Linked DNA regions of Homo sapiens: all the other regions are linked to region 5. Evidence: promoter capture Hi-C in 16 types of primary human blood cells and fetal thymus (Javierre and others, 2016). All regions are on one chromosome and are shown on one strand. Each heading gives the region's core, a stretch centred on a gene start or on the middle of the fragment in contact. The rest is flanking DNA. Distances are from core to core; before and after follow the strand shown. Region 1 overlaps TEP1 (telomerase associated protein 1). Region 2 overlaps PARP2 (poly(ADP-ribose) polymerase 2). Region 3 overlaps KLHL33 (kelch like family member 33). Region 4 overlaps TEP1 (telomerase associated protein 1). Region 5 holds the start of RNASE9 (ribonuclease A family member 9 (inactive)).

Region 1 (2,700 bases), core at 71-2,570, 160 kb after region 5:
TATAAATAAATAAAAGGAAATATAAAAAAAGATATAAGTATAAAATATAAGATAAAATGTAATTGGATATACAGAACCCTTTTTGAAGACCACAGATCTCATTAATAACTCATTAACATTTTTTTGGAATGAAATTAGTGAATTTTGCAATCTTAAGGATAAATGTCCAGTTTATTTTCTAATATCACCAGTATGATATTGGACTTAATTTCTTACCGAAAATGATCTAGAAAACCTTTTATACATAGTAACAGTGGAAAAAACTTGAGTCGACAATGGATGCAATAGTTCATTTATAGTACATATACAACCTAATTGTTCCATACAGTTTGTGAATCAGAATTATGACTGGAGGCCAGGCACCATGGCTCACGCCTGTAATCCCAGCACTTTGGGAGGCTGGGGCGGGCAAATCACTTGAGCTCAGGAGTTTGAGACCAGCCTGAGCAACATGGTGAAACCCCGTCTCTAACCAAAAATAGAAAAATTAGCTGGGCATGGTGGTTGATGTCTGTGGTCCCAGCTGCTTGGGAGGTTGAGGCAGGAGGATTGCTTGAGCCTGGAAAGTGGAGGTTGCAGCGAGCCAAGATTGTGCCACTGAGTGACAGAGACAGACTCCATCTCAAAAATAAAAAAAAAAAGAATGATGACTGGAGAATCCCAAGACTTCCAGAGGGCTGAAAGCTTCCAGCTATAATTCAAATAAGACTTACATCCCCTTTACAAAGGGAGCAGCATTTACCTGATGAAGCTGCTGATGGTGTGGGCTGGTGCACAAGGCATGGTGACGGACTGACCGGCCTGGCCTCTAAAGTGGTTTGAATGCACCTCTGTCCAGGAAAAGAAAATCACACCTCCTATTTATGTTTACTTTTATCTAAAAGAAAAGAATTTTCCCAGTACTTACCATGCAGATTGAACCCACATAGTCACTGAATCCATATGATACAGTGTTATGTGTTACGTGTAATAGTTGAGGTTTTCTGAGCATCCACAATCTGAGGGCATTAATGTCACCCCTTCACTCTTTTTTTTTTTTAATTTTGGTTTCTATATAATTTGACTTATAGCAATTTATCTTTCAATTGTAGATGGATTTGGAATTATATTATTCAGTATTAACCAAATTAACTGTCTAAAATTGATATAAACCTTTTTTTTTTTTTTTTGGGCGGAGTCTCACTTTGATGCCCAGGCTGGAGTGCAATGGCGCGACCTCGGCTCACTTCAACCTCCGCCTCCCAGGTTCAAGTGATTCTCCTGCTTCAGCCTCCTGATTAGCTGAGATTACAGGCGACCACCACCACGCCCGGCTAATTTTTGTATTTTTAGTAGAGATGGGGTTTCACCGTGTTAGCGAGGATGGTCTTGATCTCCTGACCTCATGATCCGCCTGAGTCGGCCTTCCAAAGTGCTGGGATTACAGGCGTGAGCCACTGCACCCGGCCTAAAATTGATATAAACCTTAAAAATATTATTATTAAGAAACTATGGGCTGGGCATGGTGGCTCACGCCTGTAATCCCAGCAATTTGGGAGGCCGAGGCAGGCAGATCACTGTAGATCGGGAGTTTGAGACCAGCCTGGCCAACATGGTGAAACCCCGTCTCTACTAAAAATACAAAAATTAGCCAGGCATGGTGGTGAGCACTTGTAATCCCAGCTACTCGGAGGCTGAGGCAGGAGAATTGCTTGAATCCAGGAATCAGAGGTTGCAGTGAGCTGAGATTGCACCACCACACTCTAGCCTGGGTGACAGAGTGAGACTCCGTCTCAAAAAAAAAAGAAAAGAAACTATGGCTTGAAGATAATATTAATAACACAGGTACAAGGGAACAATAAGGAAGTGACAGAGGTCAGTGGTGAAATTCTATCTCCAGTGCAAATCTTTTTCACCTATATTTAAGCAAAAAAAGTAATGACTAATCAAATAGAAGAAATTGGGTGAGAAGCTTACAAATTATGAAGACTATTTCAAATATGGATTTACATACATTCGTCATTATAAATGGTGAACTTTTTTTTAATTTTTTTTTTGGAGACAGAGTCTTGCTTTGTCACCCAGGCTGCAGTGCAGTGGCGTGATCTCGGTTCACTGCAACCTTCGCATTTTGGTTTCAAGCGATTCTCCTGACTCAGCCTTTCGAGTGGCTGGGATTAGAGGCACCAGACACCACGCCTGGCTAATTTTTGTATTTTTGTAGAGACGGGGTTTCATAAATGGTGAACCTTCTTTTAAATGGATATTGTGCCTTGAAATATTAACTAATGAATGTGCTACATTATGTTAGTATATACTTCATAAATCAACTTACACTACGAAATTTCTCTTTTGGCCATCTAAAAAGTTTAGAAACCTTTGCTCTAGACTAGATAATACATTTTGCCAGTTGAACCCAATCTTAGGGCTAGAGCCAACAGATTAAGTGGTAACATAACAGCCATCCCATAAACAGTGTTGCATAAATTTTGTTCCAAACTTTGGGCCAACCCTGTTTTTAATCTTTCCAAGCCTTTAAAACATTTTGAGTAGGGTAGATTGTATGTGAATTCCTCACTTCCTCTATCTTGGACTTTCCACATGCCTGGTTTCTGAACTTCTTGCTCTGGTCTCTGACCTCTCTCTAATCATCCCTCATTTGCTTTTTTTTTTTGAGACAGTCTTGCTATGTTGCCCAGGCTGGACTCTAATTCCTGGGTT
Region 2 (2,700 bases), core at 155-2,654, 200 kb after region 5:
AATGTTGCTGGATTAGGCTTGGTAGTATTTTGTTGATTTTTGCAATTATATTGTTAAGGGATATTGGTCTATAATTTTATTTTCTTGTGATATCTTCATCTGGTTTTGGTTTCATTCTGCTTTGTAGAATTAGTTGCAAAGTATTTTCCTCTCTTCTATTCTTTGGAAAAGTATGCAGTCTACTTCAGTTTTAATAGCAGGTTACTTCAGTGAGTAGATATATTTGACTAGTTCCTTATCTATGATCTTTTTGTGTACACCAATGCCTCAGTGACATCTATGCAAACATATATATCTGTAAGTTTTAGGTCAACAGGGCATGAACATTTCAAATTTTGATAGATATTGGAAACCTGGTTTCTAAAAAGTTACAGGAAAAATTTAAACAAACTTCTCTGTTACTTAAGGAAGTGTGTTGTTTATCTGTGTTGTGTGTTTAAATACAATCAGGAAGTCTTTGGATCTGTATTAGTCTGTTTTCATACTGCTATAAGGAACTGCCCGAGACTGGGTAATTTATAAAGGAAAGAGGTTTGACTCACAGTTCACCATGGCTGAGGAGGCCTCAGGAAATTTACAATCATAGAGGAAGGTGAAGGGGAAGCCCTTCTTCACAGGGTGGCAGGAAGGAGAAGTGCCAAGCGAAGTAGGAAGAGCCCCTTATAAAACCATCAGATCTCGTGAGAACTCACTCACTATCACAAGAACAGCATGGGGGAAACTGCCCCCATGATTCAGTTACCTCCACCTGGTCTCTCCCTTAAAATGTGGGGATTCTGGGGATTACAGTTCAAGATGAGATTTGGATGGGGACACAAAGCCTAACCATATCAGGATCTGACCTGGACTTTAGTACTTCTTAGTTGGAGCAGGTTATGTAAAAACTCATTCCACTTTTTTCCTTTCCTCCTCAAGATGTATTCAGGCTTAGTGACAGTCCTCCAAGGGCTTCCCAAATTTTTGGACATGTGATGAGTCCTAGGATGTTGAGTAGTGGGAGACCTAGGCTGCAGTGGATAAATTTGAAAAAGGCAAGTGAATACATATGCATGGGAAAGAAAAACACGACTTAGCCTTTGTTGCCTCTACCCTTCCTGTGATAATACTCAACAAATTCCAGTTTGCAGAAAAATTGAATTAAACAGGTAAAAGCATTAGCGCCCCCATTAGTGTCCCTCAATGCACAGATGCCACTAAGAACAGGATACTGAATAACCCTCAGAGCAATGAGTAATTTCTGTCCTGGAAATGGAGATCTACTAATGTCAGAAGAAATATGTTCTTGGAGAAATAAAGCCCGAAGAAGCCAGTGGTAGACCTGTACAGTTTTTATTACATAAAATATCACAAAATTCACAAGTACAACACTGCTTATTTTCTTGCTTGAAGATCAGATCTCTGGTTTATTTAATATCAACATTCACCACAGCTGAAGGAAATTAAACTGAACCTTTAAAAGGTACCGCATACGGACCTGGTTGGGGTTATATACAATATATTCATTGTAGTTGAGGGTATAACCATCTGGATTCAGAATTCCTGTGTCACTTGCTGGTCCTAATGGCACTGTACTCCCATTCCTGCCAAATGGAAAAAAAGTGTGTCAACATCAGTCTCTGGTTCAGAAGCTGCAATAGAGAACGTAGTCTTATCTGGCCAAAAGGAGTCTTCTAGTCCTCCTGGTTCTGAGTACTTACAGGGTGACGAAGTGGGCAGAACTGGGAGCCATCTTGCCCAGCCCCTTGGTGCTATGTTTACCTTGAAGCAATCCTTCGGCCTTAGGATTGGCCTCTAGTAGTTCATTACACTGACCTAGAGCTACCTGCAAAGCAAAAAACCTTTGAATTCCCATATCCTACTAAGAATTAGATGGCTCCAAAGCCAAACAGAAAATCCCATCAGTACTTTTTTCCCCTACTCCAGCAGAGGAATCCAATGTACTAGAAATTGTACTTGGTCCTCTCTCAAGCTATCCCAGGTAAACCTCTTGGTTCTGGGGTCAAACTTTTCTCATCGGAAAAAAACTGGAATTAATAAACTAGAGATCACAGACATACTCCTGTCTCACCTCTGATAAGAGCAGCAGTCCTGTATTCTTTAGGCGAGAGGCAAAGCAGTAATTGGCACTCTTGGAAGACATGTCAGCAAAGTAGATTCCTTTCCCAAACTGAAATATATACATGAATACCAAGGTCAGCTTCTAACCCACTGTGTTAGAGAGAAGGTGCATACCACTGACCCTGTTTTTCCATTCCCTTAAACACAATATAGACCCTTCTCCATTTCCCCTCACAATTCTGTTCTAGAGAGGGTAGAAGCCCCTGTGAATTTCCGCCTTCTGAGGGAAAGGTGAGGTATCTTTAGGAATTTAAAGAAAGAGGGACACAGTAAGAGATGACAAGGTTATCAGTGAGCTGGCTTAACTCTTGGGGAGGGGAACCATCTAATCCTAATCTAGGAAAAAAAGCACTGAGAACATTACTGTATCCCTTTCCCCTGTGCTCCTCCCAGAGTTCAATTTCACTCACCATGTAACCTGTGATGGGAGCTTCAGGTGGGGCAATTCGAAGCCCATGGCTCAAGATTCCCACCCAGTTACTCATCCTGGAACCATGCCATAGAAGCATCCTAAGGAAAAGCCAATATTATTGTACTCTGTTGTTCTGCACAGATAGGCCATAAGCATAAAAAAGCCAACAC
Region 3 (2,700 bases), core at 101-2,600, 130 kb after region 5:
AGTACAGTCCTTCCTCCTTTTTTTTTTTTATTACTTTATATATTGATTGGTAAAGACAATAACATGTAAGATTGGTTACCCTGGGCCAGGCATAGTGGCTCACGCCTGTAATCCCAACACTTTGGGAGGCCGAGGCAGGCAGATCACTTGAGGCCAGGAGTTCAAGGTTAGCCTGTCCAACATGGCGAAACCGTCTCTACTAAAAATACAAAAATTAGCCAGGCATGGTAGCGTGCACCTGTAGTCCCAGCTAATCTGGAAGCTGAGGCACGAGAATCACATGAAGCTGGAGGGTGGAGGTTGCAGTGAGCCGAGATTGTACCACTGCACTCCAGGCAGGGTGACAGAGTAAGACCCTATCTCAAAAAAAAAAAAATTGGTTATCCTATAAAATGCTCCATTTTCTTGATTTGTGTGGTTTTTCCCCTCTAAATTGTTCCTTTAGCCTTTCAACTTCCTATAAACTTGACTTTAGATCTAAAGAGTTGAACAGATTCAAGTTAAATATTTTGGCCAGAATAATCCATAAGTGATGCTGAGTATGAGGTCTAATTGTTTAACAGCGTAGGTTAATAGGACAGTTTCATTGTCATGAGGACCATGCAGATAACCAAGGTATTGGTACACAAGCATGCTTATTGCAGCCTGACATCAGTGGCAGTGGATGGAGATGATCTGCCCACACAGCCACTGCATGGAAATGAAAAATAAATCACATGCTTTCTTTGGGACCCAACTCAGTTTCCACATTTTATTTATTTATTTATTTTGAGATGGAGTCTCGCTCTGTCACCCAGGCTGGGTGCAGCGGCGCAGTCTCAGCTCATTGCAACCCTCGCCTCCCAGGTTCAAGCTATTCTCCTGCCTCAGTCTCCAAGTAGCTGGGATTACAGGCGCCTGCCACCATGCCCGGCTAATGTTTGTATTTTTGGTAGAGATGGAGTTTCACCATGTTGGCCAGGCTGGCCTTGAACTCCTGACCTCAAGTGATCCTACCCACCTCAGCCTCCCAAAGTGCTGGGATTACAGGTGTGTGCCACGACACCCAACCAGTTTCCTTATTTTAAAGGGAATAATTGAATTAGATTATTTTGAAGTTCTCAAGTTTCAGATCTCATGATTCTACAAATTACACCAAGAACAGGAGAGGGTTATGCAGAGAAAAGCTGGGACGCACGGAAAACATTAAACACTAAATCTTAGGCAAGAGGAGACAGCAATCCGATGAGGTTGGATTACAGCCATTCCCGAGTGGTGCCACTTTCCCAGCAAAATCTAACAGAATGGCTGACAGTCTTGGCTCTTGATTGTAAAGAATTTTATTTTGTCACGATATAGACAGACCTATATAAGTTGCTTGTTGGTCATTTCCCATTTATTTTGTGCTCCTCTTAGCAAATGCTTTCCTCTCAACCTGATCCATGAAGACTCTTTTTCTGACTCATCTGACCAAAAAGACTAAAGCAATGTTTATCTAAGTGTCTTCAGGCCACTAACATGAGAATCACATAGGGTTACTTGAAGTGTTACAATACAAATTTCTAGGGTCTCCGTCCAGAACTGCTGAATCAGAATCTCTGGGAGTGGACTGCTGAAACCTGCATTTTAACAACTACCCCATGGTATTCTGATGCACACCACAGTTTGGTCTGTAGCAGTGGGTGGCTTGGAGGGCCAAACTTAGAGTTTGGCCAAACTTAGAGTACCAAGTTGGGGTAATGCCTATCGGTCTTGCAATACTTTGAGTCCTCCTCTATTCCTTCTCCCCTCCTGCAGTGCACCGAGCCGCCCTGGCCTGTGGCAGTGAGTTCTTTGGGGCCATGCTCCTGAGCGGGATGAGGGAATCCCAGGGCACAGAGGTATCTCTGCGGACGATCTCCACCCAGGACCTGCGACTCCTCGTCTCTTTTGCTTACTCCGGAGTTGTGCGGGCAAGGTGGCCAGGGCTACTGAGAGCTGCCCAGGCTGCTCTGCAGTACCAGAGCTCTTCCTGCTTGGATTTGTGTCAGAAAGGCTTGGCACGGGGCCTCAGCCCTGCCCGTTGCCTGGCCCTGTTCCCCATGGCGGAAGCCCCTGGGTTGGAGAGGCTCTGGAGCAAAGCCCGTCACTACCTCCTCACCCACCTGCCTGCTGTAGCCTTGTGTCCTGCTTTCCCTTCTTTACCAGCTGCCTGCTTGGCTGAGCTCCTGGATAGTGATGAGCTCCATGTGCAGGAGGAGTTTGAGGCCTTTGTGGCTGCACGGTGTTGGCTGGCTGCCAACCCCGAGACCCAGGAGTCAGAGGCCAAGGCCCTGCTGCGATGTGTCCGCTTTGGCCGCATGTCCACCAGGGAGTTGCGGAGGGTGCGGGCAGCCGGGCTACTTCCACCCCTGACCCCAGATCTGTTGCACCAGCTGATGGTAGAGGCTGATGTTCCAGGCCAAGAGAGACGGAGGGAGCCTGACCGGGCACTGGTAGTGATTGGCGGGGATGGGCTCAGACCAGACATGGCCCTAAGACAACCATCCCGAGCAGTGTGGTGGGCCCGGGCCTTCCGCTGTGGCGTGGGACTGGTACGAACTGTTGAGTGGGGGCAGCTGCCTGCCCTGCCTGCCCCCGGACGCTTCCGGCATGGGGCTGCAAGCCTGGCAGGAAGTGAACTCTATGTGTGTGGGGGACAAGATTTCTACAGTCACTCCAACACCCTGGCTTCAACTCTCA
Region 4 (2,700 bases), core at 20-2,519, 180 kb after region 5:
TAGTGATGCAGGCCTAGGGGAGACCCTTGAGCAGAGCCAGGGTGCCCACGTGCTGGCCTTGGGGCCTCTGGAGGCCTCTGCTCGGGCCCGGCTGGTGAGAGAGGAGCTGGCCCTGTACGGGAAGCGGCTGGAGGAGTCACCATTTAACAACCAGGTTGGGTTCTAGGCCGGGGCCGGTGGGTGTGTGGGGTGAATCTGGGAGCTATGAGGACCTGGGGTGCCGAGGCCGCTAGCTGCCTTGCACAGACCTGCTCCTTTGTTTTCTCAGAAATTCTGTCCATGGGAAGTTGTTAATAAGAAAATTGTGATTCCTGATCATGTCACCCAGCCCTCTTCCCCCGGTGAATGGCCTTTCCAGGGCCTCTCGGGGTGAGGGGATGAGTCAAGTGGTTTTTGGTGGGGTAGGCCGAGCCACAGGGGTTTTCTGGCAGGGCTGGCTGGGCAGAGCAGCGTAGGAGAGGGATGGTTTGTGTCCTGGGATGATGCCATGGACCTGGCGTCTGCTGGGGACTCTCAGAGGAGGAGCTGCCTGGCAGAGGGGCTGGTGCTGGGGCAGAGGGCTGGCTGCGGGCAGCCCTCCTGGACCCCACCCTGAGTCCTGAGTCTTGCCAGATGCGACTGCTGCTGGTGAAGCGGGAATCAGGCCGGCCGCTCTACCTGCGCTTGGTCACCGATCACCTGAGGCTCTTCACGCTGTATGAGCAGGTCAGTTCTCATCACCTTCCAAGTCCTAATCACTACTTCCCATTCTCTCTTCAGCTGCTTTGTCTCATCCCTATCCCACGTCCTTTGCTGTCTTGTGATCACCCACTCCCTATCCTCGCCTCATACCTCGCCTCACTTCCCTCCTACTGTTGTTCTTTACTTTTTCATTCCTCCACACTGTCCTCCTGCTGCCCCTTCCCTATCCCACAAGCCAAGCTGCTTCTCCTCCCACTGCACTGAACAAGGCTGTCCTCCCGCCATCCTAGGTGTCTGAGAGACTCCGGACCCTGCCTGCCACTGTCCCCCTGCTGCTGCAGCACATCCTGAGCACACTGGAGAAGGAGCACGGGCCTGATGTCCTTCCCCAGGCCTTGACTGCCCTAGAAGTCACACGGAGTGGTCAGTGCTTGGGGTGGGTTGGTTGGGAGGCTGAGGGCCAGGGTTCGGATTACATTGGTTCCCTTGGGGTCTCAGCAGGCAGTTCAAGGAGAGACTGGGTGTGGTGGGGGCGGGGACACCGTATGGTTAGATGAGGGCCTCAGAGAGCTTGAGTTTTCAGGTTTGACTGTGGACCAGCTGCACGGAGTGCTGAGTGTGTGGCGGACACTACCGAAGGGGACTAAGAGCTGGGAAGAAGCAGTGGCTGCTGGTAACAGTGGAGACCCCTACCCCATGGGCCCGTTTGCCTGCCTCGTCCAGAGTCTGCGCAGGTACAGGTGCCCCAGCAGAGCTCCCGCTGACCTCTCTGTGCCTTCCCTTCTTTGAGCCGGGGCCCTCTGTATAGCTTCAACAACTGGCTCCCAGACCATGAATGAGCTACTGCTCCAGCTGCTCCAGTTTCCGCTATTTGAGGGGGGAATAGGAGCCCACTGTGTGCCAGGAAGCTCACTGACAGGCCTCTTCCTTCTTCTCTCTCCCTTCCTCACACGAGGACAGTTTGCTAGGGGAGGGCCCTCTGGAGCGCCCTGGTGCCCGGCTGTGCCTCCCTGATGGGCCCCTGAGAACAGCAGCTAAACGTTGCTATGGGAAGAGGCCAGGGCTAGAGGACACGGCACACATCCTCATTGCAGGTGATTGCAGCCCAAGTCAGCCTGGGCACTGAGTGTGGGGCTTGGGCCTGGAGGCCAGGACCACCCACTGTGCTCCCATCTGCTGGCCAGCTCACCTACTGCCCTTGGGAATGATGCAGGGCTGAGCCTTTCTCAATATCTGTTCATGCAGCTCAGCTCTGGAAGACATGTGACGCTGATGCCTCAGGCACCTTCCGAAGTTGCCCTCCTGAGGCTCTGGGAGACCTGCCTTACCACCTGGTTAGTTCCTAGACCCCATAGACACCTTTCCCAAAGTGAGTGCTTTGGTTGCTCTGAGACCCCTCTCCCCGTTACCATCTCCACCATCACCGCCGCCATTACCCCTCCCAAACTCCCTTGACCTCTTTCCTTTCAGTTTTCCTGCCCTTCTTCTTCAAGTCCTTTGTCCCAGCTCAGATCCTATCTCTGTATCCAGGTTCTGAGACTAAACTGTCCCTTCTCACCAGCCCCTTCATATCCCTAATGAATTCAATCTGACCTTCTCAGCTCCAGAGCGGGAACCGTGGACTTCTTTCGAAGTTCCTTACCAACCTCCATGTGGTGGCTGCACACTTGGAATTGGGTCTGGTCTCTCGGCTCTTGGAGGCCCATGCCCTCTATGGTGAGATGAGTCACTGGCTGGGTTCTTCTCTGAGATATGGGACTCCTGGGTGTGCTTATGGGGGCCCTGCTCAGGGTTGGGGCAGGGGTGTGGGTGTCAGGGAAAAAAGATTCAAATTTCCATTTCGAGTTGAAAATGCCAAGAGGGTGAGCACGTGACTCTCAGGAGACCTTTCACCTTGATCTCTTGGACCAGAGATTCTTCAACTTTATTTAGTTAGCATAAAACTATCTAGGAAACTTGTTCAAATTGCAGATCCTTGGGTCTCCATATTCTGGTTTCCTAGGTTTGGAGTGGGGCTCA
Region 5 (2,700 bases), core at 65-2,564:
CCCTGAGAAATACCAACTTAGGAAATCAAACAAAACCAGAGGCCACATCTCAGTCTATACCTTCTAGACTCACACTAGCATTACATGAAAAATAGTAAATATCTACCTAAGTCCTTTTAAAATTTTGCAGAATTGTACATTTAAAAAGCTAAATAAGATATGAGTAAAATAAATTTGCAAAAACGTGCGGTCAGTTCTGAAGAGATTTCTGTGAACCCAGACCTGGTTTGACTTCATTTTTGTAAAATCAGATATGAAAATTACTCTATTTATGCTCCGAAGGTTGATTTTCAATTATTTAGAAACACTTGTTTTCTGTATGTCTAGTCTGTGTGCTGCTTTAAGCTCTGACACTCAAGTTTTTACAGTGGCCCTAAGGGAGGAAACGTCTTGAATTGGGCCAAAGGTGTGATATACCAGTGAACTTGTTGATTCTCTTATTTACTCACAAGGATAACATTTTTCCTCCAGATTTTCCCATCCTGATACCATTCTCAGTTCAATCATGGGTGTAAAGGTTTGAGACATAAATATTGCCTCAAAATGTTTGTGAAAATTTAATTTAAAGCTGGTTAAAACCTATATTTTTCTACTGGATTTAACTAAGAGATACCCTGGGATTTATTCACAAAGGTTAGTCTAATTCTGAGGATTGAAGATTTATAATCTGTCTTTTCTCAACCACTCAAACTAAGGCACAGATTTTCCTGATGCTGATGAAAAATGAGTTTACTGATATAAACATGTGGGAGTCTGGAAAATTATCACTTAATATTTAAGAACATGGCCAATCCAGATCTTAAAACTTGACTTCTTCAATGATATTTTGTTATTTTTTTGAATTTGTAAAATTGACAATTTTAAAGATTAGAATAAAAAATTAACCAGAAATATATCATTCAGAAATAACAACTTATTATTATTACATTTTTTCTTTTCTTTCCCTTGTAATCTATATTTCTGTTAATTGGGAACATGCTGTAGATGGAGTGTTTTGATTTTCCCCCAGCTAAACAGCAAAGCACGTTTATTACTTTCGGATTTGGTCTCCATTCCTTTTTTGTGTAATAGGGAACAGCCCTTCTATCGACAATTGGAATTCTGTTGGGTTTTAATTGTGTAGTTTTGCCTTTACTTCTCAAAGAGGACATGTGTTTCAGGTAGCCAATCAGAGTGCCCCACATCCCTGGATTTATTCATGTGACAGAAGCACAGCCAATCAGAAAAGTTATTTTCCATGTTGAGTGAAGGTGGCAGAGAATGGCACTTCCTACTGTGATCCTAAATATAAGGCTACAAAGGGGGCAGTGATTGACTCTGTCATTACATGGAGAGGCCCCTACATGAGAATAAAGTTAGTGTACAAAGGAGAGTAGAGTGGGAGAGAGTAAAAACAAGAGTCTAGTCAAGAATTTGATTTCTTTCTCCTGCTCTACCTCTTGGACTTCCAACTTCTGTGAGTCAACATAGTGCCTCTTGCATTTAAGGTAATTTGTTTGGAATTTTTCTCACTGTCAACCAGAGAGTCCTAGTACTATAATATTATATCACAAAATATTTCATATCTCTAAAGTTTTTAATGCTTTTTTTCTATTCTCCTTGTTTCTCAGATGATCTAAAACTTTATTGATTAATATATTTGTAAATTCTGAAAAATAGCCCATTCTAAGAATATACAATTCTATGAATATAAAATACTGTCTCAATAAATATTAGCTCTTATAATAATAATTATTATTGCAATGTGTATTGTCATTTCTATAAACACATCAGACTCATTTTAACCTTTCCCTTTCCCACATTTTTGGATATTTATATTTTAAAATTTCAATTTTTTTCCCTTTTAAGTAAAATTTGCTGTTTGTCTTTCAATATAAATTATTGCAACTTAGAATTCTAGCTATTGAAATGCTAGAGAAAAGTATCAGCTATTCTTTTTATTGTATTTCTCAAATTTTTCAAAAAAATTATAACAATTTCTTTCTGCAGAAACATCTCATCACACTCTTATCAGCATTGAGTTTGTAAGTTATTATAATTATTGCCAATTTAAAAGATTTAATTTAGTTTTTCCTTCTGTGATTGAGGCTATATAATTATTATATGATCATGATTTATTGATGCTTTATTATATAAGGTGTTCAAACAAATCTTTTTAAAAATTAATTTAATTTAAATCAGTTTTAAATTTAAATTTTAATCTTAAACTTAAATTTAAAAATTTAAAATACCACTTAATAATCCTTCTGAAACATATTGGTTCACCTACAAGCCCATAACTCATTCCAATCTTTTCTTTTTACTATAAACTTCTTATGTGTGTGGTTAAATATAGAGTTCTGATCTGGGGCTCAGAACTTGCATTTTAGGAGGAGAGACTAGATAGACAACCCCTCCAAGGCCTTTCTCAGTCTGCAATTCTAAGTTACAATAAACCTTCCAAGCAAGTTTAAAAGCAGGGAAGAAAAGCAGGGACTTGAACAGGTATTTGTGCACCCATGTTCATAGCAACATGATTCACAATAGCCAAAAGGAGGAAGCAATTCATCCCATTCTTCTTCCAAGAACATTTGCTGAAAGGGCCAAACGTTTTCCCTACTGTTTTAGGATGTTTTCTTTTTCACAAGTTCATTTTAATGCATATTAAGAAATTCCTTGTTCAACTTTAGTGAGCTAAGAATCACCTTTAAATTTGTTTAA

What was found. The method cuts DNA at HindIII sites, captures the fragments that hold promoters and counts their contacts. A CHiCAGO score of 5 or more calls a contact.
Region 1: a contact is called between a fragment that was not itself captured here and the fragment with the promoter of RNASE9 in region 5, in 9 of 17 cell types (naive B cells, naive CD4 T cells, activated CD4 T cells and 6 more). The highest score is 10.0, in naive B cells.
Region 2: a fragment that was not itself captured here is called in contact with the fragment with the promoter of RNASE9 in region 5 in 7 of 17 cell types (total CD4 T cells, naive CD4 T cells, naive B cells and 4 more); the score reaches 7.3 in total CD4 T cells.
Region 3: a fragment that was not itself captured here is called in contact with the fragment with the promoter of RNASE9 in region 5 in 1 of 17 cell types (total CD4 T cells); the score reaches 6.1 in total CD4 T cells.
Region 4: a fragment that was not itself captured here is called in contact with the fragment with the promoter of RNASE9 in region 5 in 5 of 17 cell types (naive B cells, naive CD8 T cells, total CD4 T cells and 2 more); the score reaches 8.8 in naive B cells.

Annotation. Positions count from the first base shown.
Region 1 is chr14:20,396,846-20,399,545 of GRCh38, reverse strand. The region is part of intron 9 of TEP1 (telomerase associated protein 1); the gene reads left to right. Among named protein-coding and RNA genes, the nearest start is that of TEP1, 15 kb to the left of the region's middle. The HindIII fragment of the contact is 1,267 bases long and covers 687-1,953 here.
Region 2 is chr14:20,356,518-20,359,217 of GRCh38, reverse strand. PARP2 (poly(ADP-ribose) polymerase 2) reads right to left here. Exons shown (of 16, transcript NM_001042618.2): 13 at 2,529-2,628; 14 at 2,069-2,167; 15 at 1,698-1,822; 16 at 1,314-1,580. The coding sequence ends at 1,421. Among named protein-coding and RNA genes, the nearest start is that of PARP2, 14 kb to the right of the region's middle. The HindIII fragment of the contact is 3,285 bases long and covers 1-2,700 here.
Region 3 is chr14:20,429,796-20,432,495 of GRCh38, reverse strand. It overlaps KLHL33 (kelch like family member 33), which reads left to right. Exons shown (of 5, transcript NM_001365790.2): 3 at 1,777-2,700. Among named protein-coding and RNA genes, the nearest start is that of KLHL33, 5.0 kb to the left of the region's middle. The HindIII fragment of the contact is 2,721 bases long and covers 1-2,700 here.
Region 4 is chr14:20,380,628-20,383,327 of GRCh38, reverse strand. TEP1 (telomerase associated protein 1) reads left to right here. Exons shown (of 55, transcript NM_007110.5): 27 at 1-154; 28 at 613-705; 29 at 972-1,104; 30 at 1,265-1,415; 31 at 1,642-1,775; 32 at 1,927-2,015; 33 at 2,283-2,397. Among named protein-coding and RNA genes, the nearest start is that of TEP1, 32 kb to the left of the region's middle. The HindIII fragment of the contact is 2,872 bases long and covers 1-2,700 here.
Region 5 is chr14:20,559,661-20,562,360 of GRCh38, reverse strand. RNASE9 (ribonuclease A family member 9 (inactive)) reads left to right here and starts at 1,314. Exons shown (of 3, transcript NM_001110356.2): 1 at 1,314-1,487. RefSeq lists an enhancer at 2,294-2,700. The HindIII fragment of the contact is 11,449 bases long and covers 1-2,700 here.